5 separate regions of the Homo sapiens genome follow, and all the other regions are linked to region 1. Evidence: promoter capture Hi-C in 16 types of primary human blood cells and fetal thymus (Javierre and others, 2016). All regions are on one chromosome and are shown on one strand. The core of a region is centred on a gene start or on the middle of the fragment in contact, and the rest is flanking DNA. Distances in the headings are between cores, read along the strand shown. Region 1 holds the start of NDNF (neuron derived neurotrophic factor). Region 2 overlaps MAD2L1-DT (MAD2L1 divergent transcript). Region 3 overlaps MAD2L1-DT (MAD2L1 divergent transcript). Region 4 has its middle 130 kb from the start of MAD2L1-DT. Region 5 overlaps MAD2L1-DT (MAD2L1 divergent transcript).

What was found. Contacts are between HindIII fragments. The CHiCAGO score rates a contact against its expected background, and 5 or more counts as called.
Region 2: a contact is called between a fragment that was not itself captured here and the fragment with the promoter of NDNF in region 1, in 7 of 17 cell types (M1 macrophages, endothelial precursors, M0 macrophages and 4 more). The highest score is 8.4, in M1 macrophages.
Region 3: a fragment that was not itself captured here is called in contact with the fragment with the promoter of NDNF in region 1 in 4 of 17 cell types (endothelial precursors, megakaryocytes, total CD8 T cells and 1 more); the score reaches 8.6 in endothelial precursors.
Region 4: a fragment that was not itself captured here is called in contact with the fragment with the promoter of NDNF in region 1 in 1 of 17 cell types (endothelial precursors); the score reaches 5.5 in endothelial precursors.
Region 5: a fragment that was not itself captured here is called in contact with the fragment with the promoter of NDNF in region 1 in 11 of 17 cell types (erythroblasts, activated CD4 T cells, monocytes and 8 more); the score reaches 8.5 in erythroblasts.

What each region holds. Positions count from the first base shown.
Region 1 is chr4:121,071,242-121,073,941 of GRCh38, forward strand. NDNF (neuron derived neurotrophic factor) reads right to left here and starts at 1,294. Exons shown (of 4, transcript NM_024574.4): 1 at 752-1,294. It overlaps NDNF-AS1 (NDNF antisense RNA 1), which reads left to right and starts at 121. Exons shown (of 3, transcript NR_187407.1): 1 at 121-339; 2 at 2,509-2,623. The HindIII fragment of the contact is 1,993 bases long and covers 603-2,595 here.
Region 2 is chr4:120,133,804-120,136,503 of GRCh38, forward strand. The region is part of intron 2 of MAD2L1-DT (MAD2L1 divergent transcript); the gene reads left to right. Among named protein-coding and RNA genes, the nearest start is that of MAD2L1-DT, 68 kb to the left of the region's middle. The HindIII fragment of the contact is 2,947 bases long and covers 1-2,700 here.
Region 3 is chr4:120,090,854-120,093,553 of GRCh38, forward strand. All of the region lies in intron 2 of MAD2L1-DT (MAD2L1 divergent transcript), which reads left to right. It also overlaps the pseudogene LTV1P1. Among named protein-coding and RNA genes, the nearest start is that of MAD2L1-DT, 25 kb to the left of the region's middle. The HindIII fragment of the contact is 2,749 bases long and covers 1-2,658 here.
Region 4 is chr4:120,193,339-120,196,038 of GRCh38, forward strand. No RefSeq gene overlaps it. Among named protein-coding and RNA genes, the nearest start is that of MAD2L1-DT, 130 kb to the left of the region's middle. The HindIII fragment of the contact is 846 bases long and covers 999-1,844 here.
Region 5 is chr4:120,158,875-120,161,574 of GRCh38, forward strand. All of the region lies in intron 3 of MAD2L1-DT (MAD2L1 divergent transcript), which reads left to right. Among named protein-coding and RNA genes, the nearest start is that of MAD2L1-DT, 93 kb to the left of the region's middle. The HindIII fragment of the contact is 2,023 bases long and covers 417-2,439 here.

The sequences.
Region 1 (2,700 bases), core at 44-2,543:
GCGTCACCTCGGTGGCCGCTCTGCTCTCCGGAAGAAAGTATGAGCCGGTCCCAGGCCACCTCGCTCAGCCCAAGGAAGTTTCTATAACGATGCTCGCCTACCACGCAGAGGACAAATGAGGAGCCAGAGCGGTTGGGGGTCGGGCCAACCGAACTCCCGGCCCCGGCTGCGCAGCTCCCAGACGCCCACCAAGAACTCGTGCGCTGCCTGGACCTCTAGCTTTTCGCCCTACACGCAGACGCCCTCTGCAAAACCCCAGTCCCGCAGACTTTCCCTAGCGGCGGGCGGAGGGCATGAACCTGGAAAGGGAGGCAACAGCCCTCTTGGCAGGCGGGCAAAGTAAGTGTCCAGGCTAAGTCCGGGATAAAGGCTCCGCGGCTCCCCAGACCCCACTGCACCCCGAGCTCCCGGGTCCCAGGTCTTCCCCGCCCTTGCGCTGTCTGTCCACCTCCTCACATCTCTCCGGGCCGCCCAGCTTCGAAAGCAGCTAAATTAAAAACAAACAAACAAACAAACAACAACAACAATAAAAAAAAAAAAACGAGGGAAACCTGCTCCTGCCCCTCATGCCCTCAGCTCCTACGGATAGGGCGCCCTTGAGAAGCTTCTTGGGCCTTGAAGATTTGGGGGCGCGTGCCTCGAGCCCCCATCTCGGATGACCCTTCGGGCGTGAACGCTCCTTGTGCTAGGTCTCAGGGTGGCGGGCTAAGGCGTCGGGTCTCTGGGGCATTGCTTTCCTCTCCCCACTTACCTTAAAAAGATCTGTTTTTCGTAGGGAAAATAGAAAAAAATCCCTCCCCGTGGTGTGGTGTGCGAAATAGTCCACGTCCCCGGACCCTGCCAAGATGCTAAGCACCAATATCCAGGAACGAGAAGCCTGGAGGGCGGGGACGGAGGCAGATAAAAGAGAAAAATTCAATCCGCTGAAGTGTCCCAACTTTGCGGTCGGCACAGCAAACTTCAAAGGCGGGCGAGGGCGGGCGGCGCGCGGTCGCCGAAGTTGCTGCGAAGTGGAGTAGGGAGCCGCGCGGGGCTGGGGAATCCCGGGGCAGCGCCGAGAAGCGGCGGGAGGTCCTTTTAAACTGCAGGGAGCGTGCGGGGGCTGGGCGGCGGGAGGATGCCGCAGCGACCCGCGGGGCTGGCGCGGGCTTCGCCGGCCGCCGCTAGTCGCACAGGCGCCTGGCTGGAGCGCCGCGCGGGGTGCTGGGAGAGCCGGGCGCACGGGGCGGCAGCGGCCGTGGCGGGTGCGCTGCTCAGTTAGCTCCACTCTCTCGCGGCTGGAAGTGGGGAGTGTGTGTTCGCTCCCGAGTGTCACTGCTGAAGCCCGGAGTCTCTTCCCCTCCCAGCCCTAACCCCTCCCGCCTCACCGCTGCCCGCCCGCCCCCTCCCTCCTCTGCCCGTTGCCTCCCCCTCCGTCCCTCCTTCTCTCCCTCCCGCTGCGCGCCAGCGCGCACGCACACACACACACACACACACACACTCATACACATACACACACTCACACACAGACACCCTCTCCCTCCTTTTCTCTCTCCCTGTAGCCCTCCCTCCCTCTCTTTCTCTCACACACACACCACCCTGCTCAGCGACCCAGCGCTCCCCAAACAGGACCCTCGCGGGCGGCATCGCGAGGGACACGCTGCTGTCCTAACCTTAGCGCCACTCGGGGAGAATGAAGGAGGCCCACCGAGCCCCCGACAAAGCTGCAAAACCCAGGAGACGCGCACGCGGGACCATCACACTGTCAAGCAGACCGGGGTGCACAATAGAGGGAAACTCTGGGGTTGATCTGGGGGCAGGGAGGGGGACGTGTTAAATCCAGAAGGTTGGTGGTTGGAGGCGGAAAGCAGAGTGTGCAAACTGTGCATTCATGTCCCACTTTTCACCCGAACGCCTGCCTATCACAGCCTTCACTCAGGGAGCGCTTCCCCCTCGGCGCAGACCGAGCCTCCTCCGATTTGAAACTCAGCAGCTGTTTTAACAATTGAAAAAGCGGCCCTACAGGACCAGTGAAACGGAGCAGAGTGTGTGAAGCCATTAAGGCTGACTAGGTAATTATGATAAAAAGTTACCTAATTAGCAACCTGGCCTGGGCTTAGGAAAACCAAGAAAAAAAAAGTACCGAATGATTTGGTGATCTCATTTTTGCAACTGAGAACCTGATTTCCAGCAAACCTGGTTTTATATAAGTTCTAATAATATATAATTATTTATTAAGATATAGTGTCAGTATTGAAAACACTAGTTCTGTTATTGCCACAATGAAATTAAGGTAGGTAGGATGAAAATCAGCCTTATCCCGGTCATATTAAGAACTATGATCTTTTTTGCTAAACAGTTGGTCACAGAGGGTGGACCAATGCAGCTCCTAAAGTTTTGTGGTTCCTAGATGAAAACACTGCAGGAAATGGATTTATAAAACCGTTTACACGACATAAAATAGTTTTGTAAAATTTTTAAACACTGAAAAGGACATTTCAGATCACTGTGCAAGCATATTTTTTGCAGATGAGACAATGAGGTGAGAAAAGTCCTCATTGTATCTCCACTTAGGAGATACGATCTAGAGCAGATCCCTGGGTCATTCATTAACAAAGCTTACGAAGTCCCTGCTGTGTACCAGGTATGTCTTATGTGCTGAGATTTAGAGGTGATGGTGCTGCCTTTAAGGAACTCACCGCCTGGTGAGGAGACAGAGGC
Region 2 (2,700 bases), core at 10-2,509, 940 kb before region 1:
ACCATTTAGATAATATTAATATATAAGACTTATCAGGTGCTCATAATGTCAACTATTGTGCTGCATGCTGCACATTTATTATCTTATTTATTACTGAAAACTGCTCCATGACAAAAAAGTTCTGTTGTTATTTCCCTAATGAAACTCAGAGAAATTGGTAATTTTTTTCAAGATCACACAGCTATTAAGGTGGTAGAGCTAGGATCTGAATCTAGAACTCAGACCCTTAACCCATACTGCCTCATTATTTTGGTTGATATATGAATGCTTTTAGGTGCCAATTACTGTGTAAGTTGAATATTTCTGAGGCCGTAGCTGCTTTGGAAAGCACAATGTCTGTCTTCATTCATAATAAGAAGATTTAATAGTGTTATTCTAGTTTTTTGGGTTATGAAGAGAATATATATGAACAAAATATATCTCTAAATGCATATGGTCTGTGACAGAAGAATATATACATGTCTGTCAATAAAATAAAATATATATTTAGCAATTTCTAGGCCTGATCATAATTATTTGTGTAGTTTCTAGATTCAACGAAATGATATAATCAATGTAATGTAACCAGACTGACTCTCTCTGTTACATTTTCAGGAATTTTAGAACATAGCGAAATGATGATTAGTGATTCAATTTATTTTCTAGAAGAAATAGATATGCCTCCTCTGTGACAGAAATTATATATGATCTTCCACTCTTGTATCAAGCCCATGCCCTCAAAAGTGCTCCAAGCATTGTTACTTTCCTGGATATCATGTTATACTATGAAAGTGTTCAGTGGGAAGTTAAGGATTCCACATTTTTTAAAAAATTTCTTTTATTGGAGAGTCATCAGGGCCTTCCATATACAATGTACATTAGTTTTTCAAAAGGAGTATAGATATGTTTTATTTCTCAGATTTATTTGAAGTGGACTGAGTCATAGATCAAAATTGGAAAACATCGATTTAGAATGAGGAAGGATTAAATTTATCCAGAAAAAAGCAGGAATAAACACACCATATTAAAAGGTGGGTTTATAATTTATTACAGGTGGGCCTATCTACATGTGTGTATATAGAAAATTTTATGTTAATTTAAAGCAACACTTATAGATGAATTAACAATTAGCAAATAATAAAGCTAGTAATAGAGGAAATATATGAGAACATTTAAGTCATGTTGCAGGGAGATTTTAACAGTTAAAAGTATCTTCCTGTTTCATAGACACGCAGACTTATAAACCAGACATAAATATCTACTTAAGACAGTTCAGTCCTGTTTAGTATAAGTCATGATTATGTGATTTTAGGTCATACAAAGACTCAGAAAGAAAAATACCTTAATTGTACTAGCGAATAATAGTGACAGCCTATAATGATGAAACATTGTTTCTAAGGGTAAAAATACAATTTTATGGTTACAATGGCTGTCCTCAATACATTGGTTGACATTAAATGTCAGAGTATCTAAAACTGTTCATGTCTCCAGGAGCCAGTCCTTACTGAGTTATAGTGAGAGGTATAAGAATTCCATTTGACAGAATGTCACTGATGAAATCGATCTAGAATCTTTACAAACTGCTGCTATTTTTTCTTTGCTTCCTTCAAAATTTCTGGACTTTCTACTCAGTAGATACATCCGGAAAACGATGGGACGAAATTAATGTGGGATACAGTAATACAGTGGGTAGTCAATGAGAAATAAATAAAATATTTGGGGTCTGCAAAGAAAAGAAATGACAAAAAGAAAAATAAGACCTTGTTTTATTCAGGGATGTGACACTATCAGTGTAATAGGCAGACATTTTAAATACTATAAATGACCTAAAGTTGTTATATAATTATGGATAATTCATTAATTTGGAGGAACATATATCATGTTTTTCAGTGATTCATAGAAGAAAACATTTCCATGGTCACAAAAATCTATTTCTCAAAGAAAATATATACAGATTTCAATGGCTCAGTAAAAAGACATTCATATCCCAAGGCAGGATTTAGTGAAATTTTTACTGCTATGTGTTGAATGAAGATCTCTGTAATATTTGTCTGTGTTCAGGCTTATCAGAGGTTAAATGCTGAAGGTGCTAATGCCAAAAAAGTTATCACTTATCTGTTGTCATTTGAAGGGAAATACTTAGAGTTTCAAGTATTATTTTCTGGGAATTTCAGGATTTTCTTGGAAATCTGGCTTTTTAGAATTATAGATATGAAAAATTTGTGTGGTGGTAATTTGATCATGAGATCAACAGGAAATGACATAAAAACATTTCTAAAAGTCTTACATAACTTTGATTCATCTGGTATAAAGGTTAAATTATTTTTTGGATCTTAGAAAAAGAAAATAATTATGATTACCTTTGGCATTTATTTCAATCAACATAAAGCATTTACATTATATGACATGCTTAATTAAAAAAAACAAAAAAGTTTACATTATCCAGAAACTTTAATTTCTATTACAATTTATTTTTCGTGAAAACACTTTCTTGTTTCTTGTAGGAAAATATATTTTCTGGGATTGGAGTCACTATTTTGAGCCTTTCACAGATGTGGTTGTTTCCTACCACTAGTACACCTTCTTATAATAAACAGCCACAAAAGGCTAGATGCCACTGGCTGTATGGACCTGAATTTTGAGTAAGAACCCTTATAGATTTCTTGAAGCCTTTGCAGGGATCAAGAATATCTACAACCACCTAAAATATGCTAATACAGT
Region 3 (2,700 bases), core at 34-2,533, 980 kb before region 1:
AATTAAAATAAAAATATGAAAATATGTACAAGAGGGTTAGCAGGAAAAACTTGGTAAAGAATTAATTTAAATACCGTACTTTCTTTTTCAATACCCATTAGTAAAAAATGGCAGTAAAAATATTCTGGTTCATAATTGAATATAATGAGGAGTTCCTAATGGGGAATGTGCCTTTTTCTAAATGTCCCATTGTGATAACTTTAGACCCTCAACATTCTTCTTCAGGTTCAGTAGTTCATTTTCCTGCCTTCTTTTCTCTAGTTTGAAGGTTCATTTGTTAGCTTTCTTCTCCATTCTCTTGTGCTCTTTTACAGCTTGCTTTCTTTCTCTTTTATTTTCTTTGCTTTCATTTTTAGAATGTGGGTTGATACCCTTTGCAGATCCCTGCCATTAATCATCTGCACATATTCAATTTGATTTGCGTTGAGTTCTTTCTTTGGTAAGCCATTGAGAGATATTCCTGTTTCTCATTTTTGGATTTGTTGGGCTTTCGTTGATGCTGGATAAACTAAAGATGGTTATATAAATGTGAGCATGCACGGCAAATGGATTCTTCATCAATTTGCTTTTGCTTCTTTTAGAACTATAGGAATTATCTCTACCTCCCCCAACTCATCAATCTCATTTACTGGCAGACAATTTTATCCTCAGAGGCTTAAAGAGTATTCAGCTTTACACAATTTGCTGCCTTCTCTTTGTATCAGTCATTCAAAACTTTGTGTAAACGATTGCTCAAGTAACTCAGGTCCACTCTGTCTATGTGAATGAAACCCTCCAATTTGTCATCATCCAGAGCTACAATCTTAAAATCATCATATTGTTCATAAAAGTTCTCAAACTTCTCTTTTTATAGGGTCAGCTACTCTTTTCTTTTTAGGACTCAGGAAGTTATATTCTATGAAATGACAACACATTTCCTCTTCCTTAAAAAAGTGGCTTTCTATGACTTTGTGAGATTTTCCCAGGCAGACAAATAATCTTCATCTGAAAATGGGCTTTGAAAATCAGTCATTATTCCTTGCTTTCACTTTTTTTTTCTCATCCATAATCCATTAACTATCTAATATCTTTCTCAAACTCTGATGTAAACATTGATTAAGGCAAATTAATTTCAGGGCCTGGAATTACAAAATTCCTTCTTTCTCATCTCTTTTCCTGCATGTACTGATGTGTTTTTGGGAATAAGGGGAATAAGCACTGAGGGCCCAGATGGTTCTTTCAGATGCTTTAGGTAGTCACAACCATCATCAAAAACACTTCATAACTTCCTCTGTTTTACTCACCTTGTTTATCATTTTTTTTAATGTGTGGACAACACAACTCCTCTGGGATACATTGGTATCTGCTACTGAAAATCTCTTTGACTTGAGTGGACCATGTGAAAAGACACAGTTTTCTCGTCTATAAAGGTCCCCCTCCCCAAACTCATTCTGCAACTGTGTAGGGCTTCCCCTCAAAACAGCAACTATATACCTTAGTGTCCCAGACAGAGCAGGTAACATTACATCCCAGGAGTGTACAAGGACCAGTTAATAGCCACATCTTAAGGCCTTGCCACAGTGCTGCCTTTGGATTTTGTAGCACAAACCTGAAGTCTTGGCTCAGAGACACAATGAAAGCTGCAAATATTCCACCCAGCAATGCCTGAAAACACCCACTCTGTCTCAGCCACACCCGCAAGGTCAACCAAAGCAACCCAAAGTCTTAAATTATCTGCCAGATTCTGTGCCTCACTCAGGGTTGAAAGCCCACATAGGTTATCACCTAAAGCCCTCAGCCCTGCATTAAAATACTGTAATTTCCTATGCGATTTTGTCCCCCAAAACCTACCCACCTGGTCCATTTCTTATTTATTACTCAAGACTCCTTGTATATCTACCAAGATTTTGGAGTTTAGTGAGGATCTATCCCTTTTTTCCCCATCTTAATCCTTGAACCAATCCAGAGACAGATGCAGGATTTCAACAGAAGAAAATAATATTTTAATATAGCACTTTTATTAAAGATAAAGTTGATTTCTAGAGTCGGAGTATTCCAGACGTAGACTTATTTATTTATTTAATTTAATTTAATTTAATTTTTTTTGAGATGGAGTCTTGTGCTGTTACCCAGGCTGGAGTGCAATGGTGCAATCTCTGCTCACTGCAACCTCCGCCTCCCAGGTTCAAGTGATTCTCCTGTCTCAGCCTCCTGAGTAGGTGGGATTACAGGCACCTGCCACCACTACCCTGCTAATTTTTTTTTTTTTTTTGTATTTTTAGTAGAGATGGGGTTTCACTATGTTGGCCAGGCTGGTCTTGAACTCTTGACCTCATGATCTGCCCACCTCGGCCTCCAGAAGTGCTGGGATTACAGGTGTGAGCCACCTCGCCTGGCCTCTATATCTTTACTTAACATGTTCAATCTTTTCTTAACTGCTTCAACAAATGGAATACAGTTATAAGAACCATATTATGTTTTATGTATTTTAGGTTTAATATCTTTGACTACCAATTCTATTATCTGTGTCATTTCTGTGTCAATTTTGATTGATTTATTTTTTCCTCATTATAGATTATATTTCCCTGCTTCTTTGTATTCCTGATCATATTTTAACATGAGACATTGTGAATTTCACCTTGGGTGCGTTATATTTTTGTAGTCTTTAAAATATTTTTAAGCTTTGTTTTTGGACAGGGTGAATTGGGAACTACTTGATTC
Region 4 (2,700 bases), core at 172-2,671, 880 kb before region 1:
CTGTTCACAGCAATATCAAAAGCACTATATTTTTTCTCAAGTATGATTTGACTGAAATGATAAAATTTCGTCATTCAGAGATCTCACATTTCTCTTTATGAGTTTCAGAATGTGAAGACAAAAAATTGCTAACCTGCTATCTGTTTTCAAGTCAAAACTGATTATCCCAAGTCATTGCCAGTCTCAATAAGAATGCTTAACATGTTTTAAAAATTCTTTTTATTCTTTTGAAACGTGCAGGGTAATTTTATTTTTAATCCTTCTGTATTCACTCTTGCCAATCATTCTGAATGTGAGTGATAAGTTTGTTTTGTATACATTTTATTTATAGCATAAAAAGTAAATCAAAGACATTAGTTTCATAAACCTTTCCTATTATCTTTTTTTGAGACAGAATCTTGCTCTGTTGCCCAGGCTGGAGTGCAGTGGCTTGATCTTGGCTCATTGAAACCTCTGTATCCCAGGTTCAAATGATTCTCCTGCCTCAGCCTCCTGAGTATCTGGGATTACAGGCATGTGCCACCACGCCCGGCTAATTTTTTGTAGTTTTAGTAGAGACAGGGTTTCACTGTGTTAGCCAGGATGGTCTCGATCTCCTGACCTTGTGATCCACCTGCCTCGGCCTCCCAAAGTGCTGCAATTATCTTAAATTAACAATTCCAGAAAGTCCTGCAATTCATGAGACTTGGTGAAAGTGGATTAGAGCTTTTCAAAGGTATTTTTTACAAAGTCAATGTTAATTTTATGAAACTGCTTCTAATTTGAATAATTATTTATCTTTTACCCAACCTGTAAGTCCTCTGTCCAATTAACGAGACTTTGGCCACCCATGACAAAGTTTACTCATTTGTTATCCTACTTGCAAAAGTGATGTTGATGGAATTTGTGATAAGCTCTGGTTTCTTCAAGTAATACTCAGTCTCTAACCTCTTCCAGAATAAAAGCCTAGAAAATATTCTGTGATCCCTTACAACTGATTGATTGGGGATGACATGTCAAGCTTTGGGCTGGAGATTCAGTGATTGCCTCTTGCCTAGGAGGTTTAAATTTTCATGTCTCCCTCTGAGCTGCAGCTAACATGTAACAAATTTGCCTGGTTAGATAACATTATTGCCTACAACTCTGGGCATCATACATGACTTGCCCATCCTGTAGTAAGGATAGGCATAGCCAGGCCTGGTGTGTGAAGCTGTTGATAGATGAATAATCCTCCATACTGCAGAAGCCAGAGCAAAAAAGCTAATCATGTATGGCAGTGAGCATGAAGTAACCTGCCTTCCCTCCTAAATAAACAGATGGAAAGAGTTTGCAGTTCATTTCTTTCCAAGGTAACAAATTATTTTATTTCTATGTTTTACAGTAACAGAACCAAAAGTTCTTCTCTTTGGGGAAATTTTATTTTTCTTTAATTATTCCATGCAAACAAGAGACCTGAGTCTTCTGGGGACAGATGCAGAGAAGTCAAAATTAATTAGTTTTTCTTATGATACACTGCATTTGGGTAAAATATCACTGTGGGGGCACAATGACAGATTACTCGATCAAGTGCTGAGTTACTAGAAAGGCAGAATTTTATCAGAAAAATCTACATAGAAATAATATTTCACCTTCCTTGAAAGTCAACATCGTTTGGTACTCTCCTTGGAGTTCTCGGTTCATGTACTTTCTTTCATCTACTCTTTGTCTTTCCTTTAAGATGTCAGACAGCATGGGAAAGTGATAGAGTGGCCTACAAGTCCCCAGTGAACTCAAGAACCATGTTGCTATTTAACTATAACATAAAAGTCACAAATCAAACTCAGTTTCTTTTTCTCTTATGATTGTCAAAGTTATACATTCTGAAAAGCTTCAAGGTGAAACAAAGAAATCTACTTCAATGATTCTCTGTCATTTCATAGGTAGGTGTTCAAATCAGGCTGTGAGCATTACACAAATACATCTGTGGCTCAAAAATCAGCCTTCAAATTAGGTATTTATTCTTTTCATGCCTGATTAAGACCTGATTATATGAAAGCATGCCAAGTACATGATTTACATTATTAAAATATAAGACTTCAGCATTGAGTATAATTCCCAAGTGATCTTATTATTAATTTATTAAGCATGTATCTTGTAATGAACTCAAGATTTCTGTCTCACAAAAGAATAGCATTATCATGTACTAATGAAATAGGCAAAGTATGAACCTCATATATTGAAGGCAAGTTACACATAGATGTCTTCAAGTCAAGGTCTAAGCAAGGTTGTTTGTAATTCAGGGGAAATTCTGGAAATAATCACCACAAAAATGTCTCTGTTAGTTCAAAATATTCATTAACAAAACCCAGGCAAATACCTAAAAACAGAGACTTCCTTGAATAAGTTTACATTTCAATTTTACTCATCCATTTATTTCTTATAAAATGATAAATAATAAACAAAGACCAAGAAAAGAAGAGCCCTTTCCAAAGCTTTCCTAATCAAAGACAATTTTTTTTTCTTGGATCTATTTTGTATACTCATTTCACATAGTAAACATATGACCATCTGTGATGGTTAATATGAGGTGTCAACTTGATTGGGTTGAGGGATGCATAGGTGGCTGGTAAAGAACTGGGTGTGTCTGTGAGGCTGTTGCCAGAGGAGACTGACATTTGAGTCTGTGGACTGGGAGACAAAGACCCACCCTCAGAGCACCTTCCAAAGGCTGCCAGCACAGCT
Region 5 (2,700 bases), core at 178-2,677, 910 kb before region 1:
AAACAGAATTTGTTCACAGGGTGAAACACATATTTATGGTCCTGAATAAACTGCACAGATTCAAAAACTATTTGTGTGACAGTGCTAGACACAGGAATTCTGAGGCCAAATGGGATGTTTGTAGTCCACATTTGCATATCAATACCCAGACTCCCCTTTAGGAATACTGCTGCTTCATGACAATGCTGTTGTCTGAGGTCTGGGGGAAAGAAAACCCATAAAAGTTTGGACTCACTTTTCAATGCCCTCGATTCAATTCTTTTTTTGTGCTTTGGAAAACTGTGAAACAGGGTCACCAAGTTCAATTCTCCATAGTTTTATTATGTTTTAAATGAAGCGATTGAACCTGCACAGAACCCAGACGGACAGACACCACATGGCCACTTTGTGGCAAGGCAGCTTCTTAGGAATGGTGAAGCTTGTCTTAGTATGTTTCATGGGGTTGGGATCTGCACTATGGTTCCTTAGTTTAAAGAACCAAAGTAAACAAAACTCTTAAGCAAAATACTTAGAACCCTTTTTCCTGGAGAAAAAGTATACAATAAATGATTCTTTTAGCTATTGAGAAGCTAACCTAAGCATGTAATCATTATTTGAAAACCAGCCTGTGGATATCAAAGGGATTTTATAAGGTGATGTCATTTTCTACCTGGCCAAGCTGCCTTGATGGCTTTCAGTTCTTGTCCTTGAAATAGAGTTCTTGTCACACAGAGCCTTTCATAATTTTGCTGAAGAGTTATTTGGAAAAAATGATTTCATTCTTATTTTTTGTCTAGCAATGCTTTGGTCTTCCTGAGGAGAATTTTAAAAGTTAACGTTTTCCTTTATTTTTTAGAATGTAGTTGATTTTGTTAATTGCAACCCTCTGAAGACACAAGATAAAAAGAAGGCCATGTTTTGATATTACTGCCCTTTTCTACTACTGCACATTTGCAAACATCTTTGTGAGAGTGCTGTAACTGCAAATGTCAGCATTAGCAGTATTTCTTCTTCACAGTTTTACTTGTGATATAGTGACATATTTTTCCATGCAACTACAAGGTATTGTGTTCTTAAATGCCCATTTTAACCCTGCTTTGTTTTAACTCACATACTGATTTGCTTTTAGATTTTGTCATTAATTTTCTTTTTCTATGCAATACAGACATATGTCTGCTTGAATATCTTTTTATGGCTACCTCAAGAATGACTTACAGGGTATAAAATTGTCTTTAATATAGGTGACGCTGGGTTAGTCATATTTTAATTGTTTTGATCAGAGCTCTGAATAGTTTCCTGATTCTCCTCCAATTACCTGTCTTCCTAATTCTCAGCTTCTAAGGAAGAAGACAAGTAAGAGTCCATCTGACAAAAGAAGCTATTCTGATCTCTAGATCCCATCTTTATTTGGTACTATTGACAAAGAACTGTTATTGCCCCTGCAGAGAACATTGGTGGCTTCACTGTCCTTGATTTTTTACATAAAATTTGCTATTACTGTCCCTTCTCTGTTTTCTTATTTTCTTTTCTGGTATCTCTCTTCTCTTCTAACCACTCTCAAATAGTACATACAATTGTGTTCTTCTCTTTCTAAATTCCCCGTTTTCATGTTTTTCAGTGCCTTTAGGTCTTCATCCAATACCTCGATGTAGGTAATTCCAAAAATGATAATTTTACCTCAATTCTACTCCAAGAGTTAAGTTGTTCATTTGGTGTTTCTATTGGTTATTATACTTATTACAAATCTTGGTAAGTCTGAAACTAGGTACTATAAAAGATTTTCATGTGGTAGTTTTTAAATGTGTTCAAAAATTATTTGACACAATCCTCTTGAAAAAGTAGAGCTGGGCCGGGTGCGGTGGTTCACGCCTGTAATCCCAACACTTTGGGAAGCCAAGGCGAATGGATCACCTGAGGTCAGGAGTTCAAGACAAGTTTGGCCAACATGACGAAACCCCGTCTCTACTAAAAATACAAAAATTAGCTGGGCGTGGTGGCACGGGCCTGTAATCCAAGCTACTCGGGAGGCTGAGGCAGGAGAATTGCTTGAACCTGGGAGGCAGAGGTTGCAGTAAGCTGAGATCGTACCACTGCACTCCAGCCTGGGAGACAGAGAAAGACTCTGTCTCCAAAAAAAAAAAAAAAAAGAAAAAAAGAAAAGAAAAAATAGAGCCTAACATTCCTCTTCTTGAAGGTGTACCAACTTTAATAATCCTTTCTTGTGAATAGAATGTGACAGAACTGGCCATGTGTGACTTCTGAGGCTACATGGTAAAAAAAAAAAAAAAAAAAAAAAACTTTGCCTCTTCTGCCTTGCTTCCTCTTAGGTCACTCACTCTGGTAGAAACGAGCCACCATATCATGAGAATAGTCAAGCAGCCCTACAGAGATGTCCATGTGGACAGCAACTAAGGCCTTTCCATCATGGCTCCACCAACTTGCAGGCCAGCTGTGTGAGCAAGCTTGCAAGTGATCTTGTAGTTTTAGTCATTCCTTTAGATGACAATCCTGGTTGACATCTGACAGTAACCACATGAGAGATTCTAAGCCAGAGCCACCAAGATAAATTGTTCTTGAATTCCAAGTTTACAGAAAGTCTATGAGATAATATTGTTACTTTATGCCACAAAGTTTTGGGGTAGTAGCTTACGCAGCAATAGATAGCTATTCTAGCACTCCTCCAACAGCCACTTCATTTCTTATACAGTCATACATTGCTTA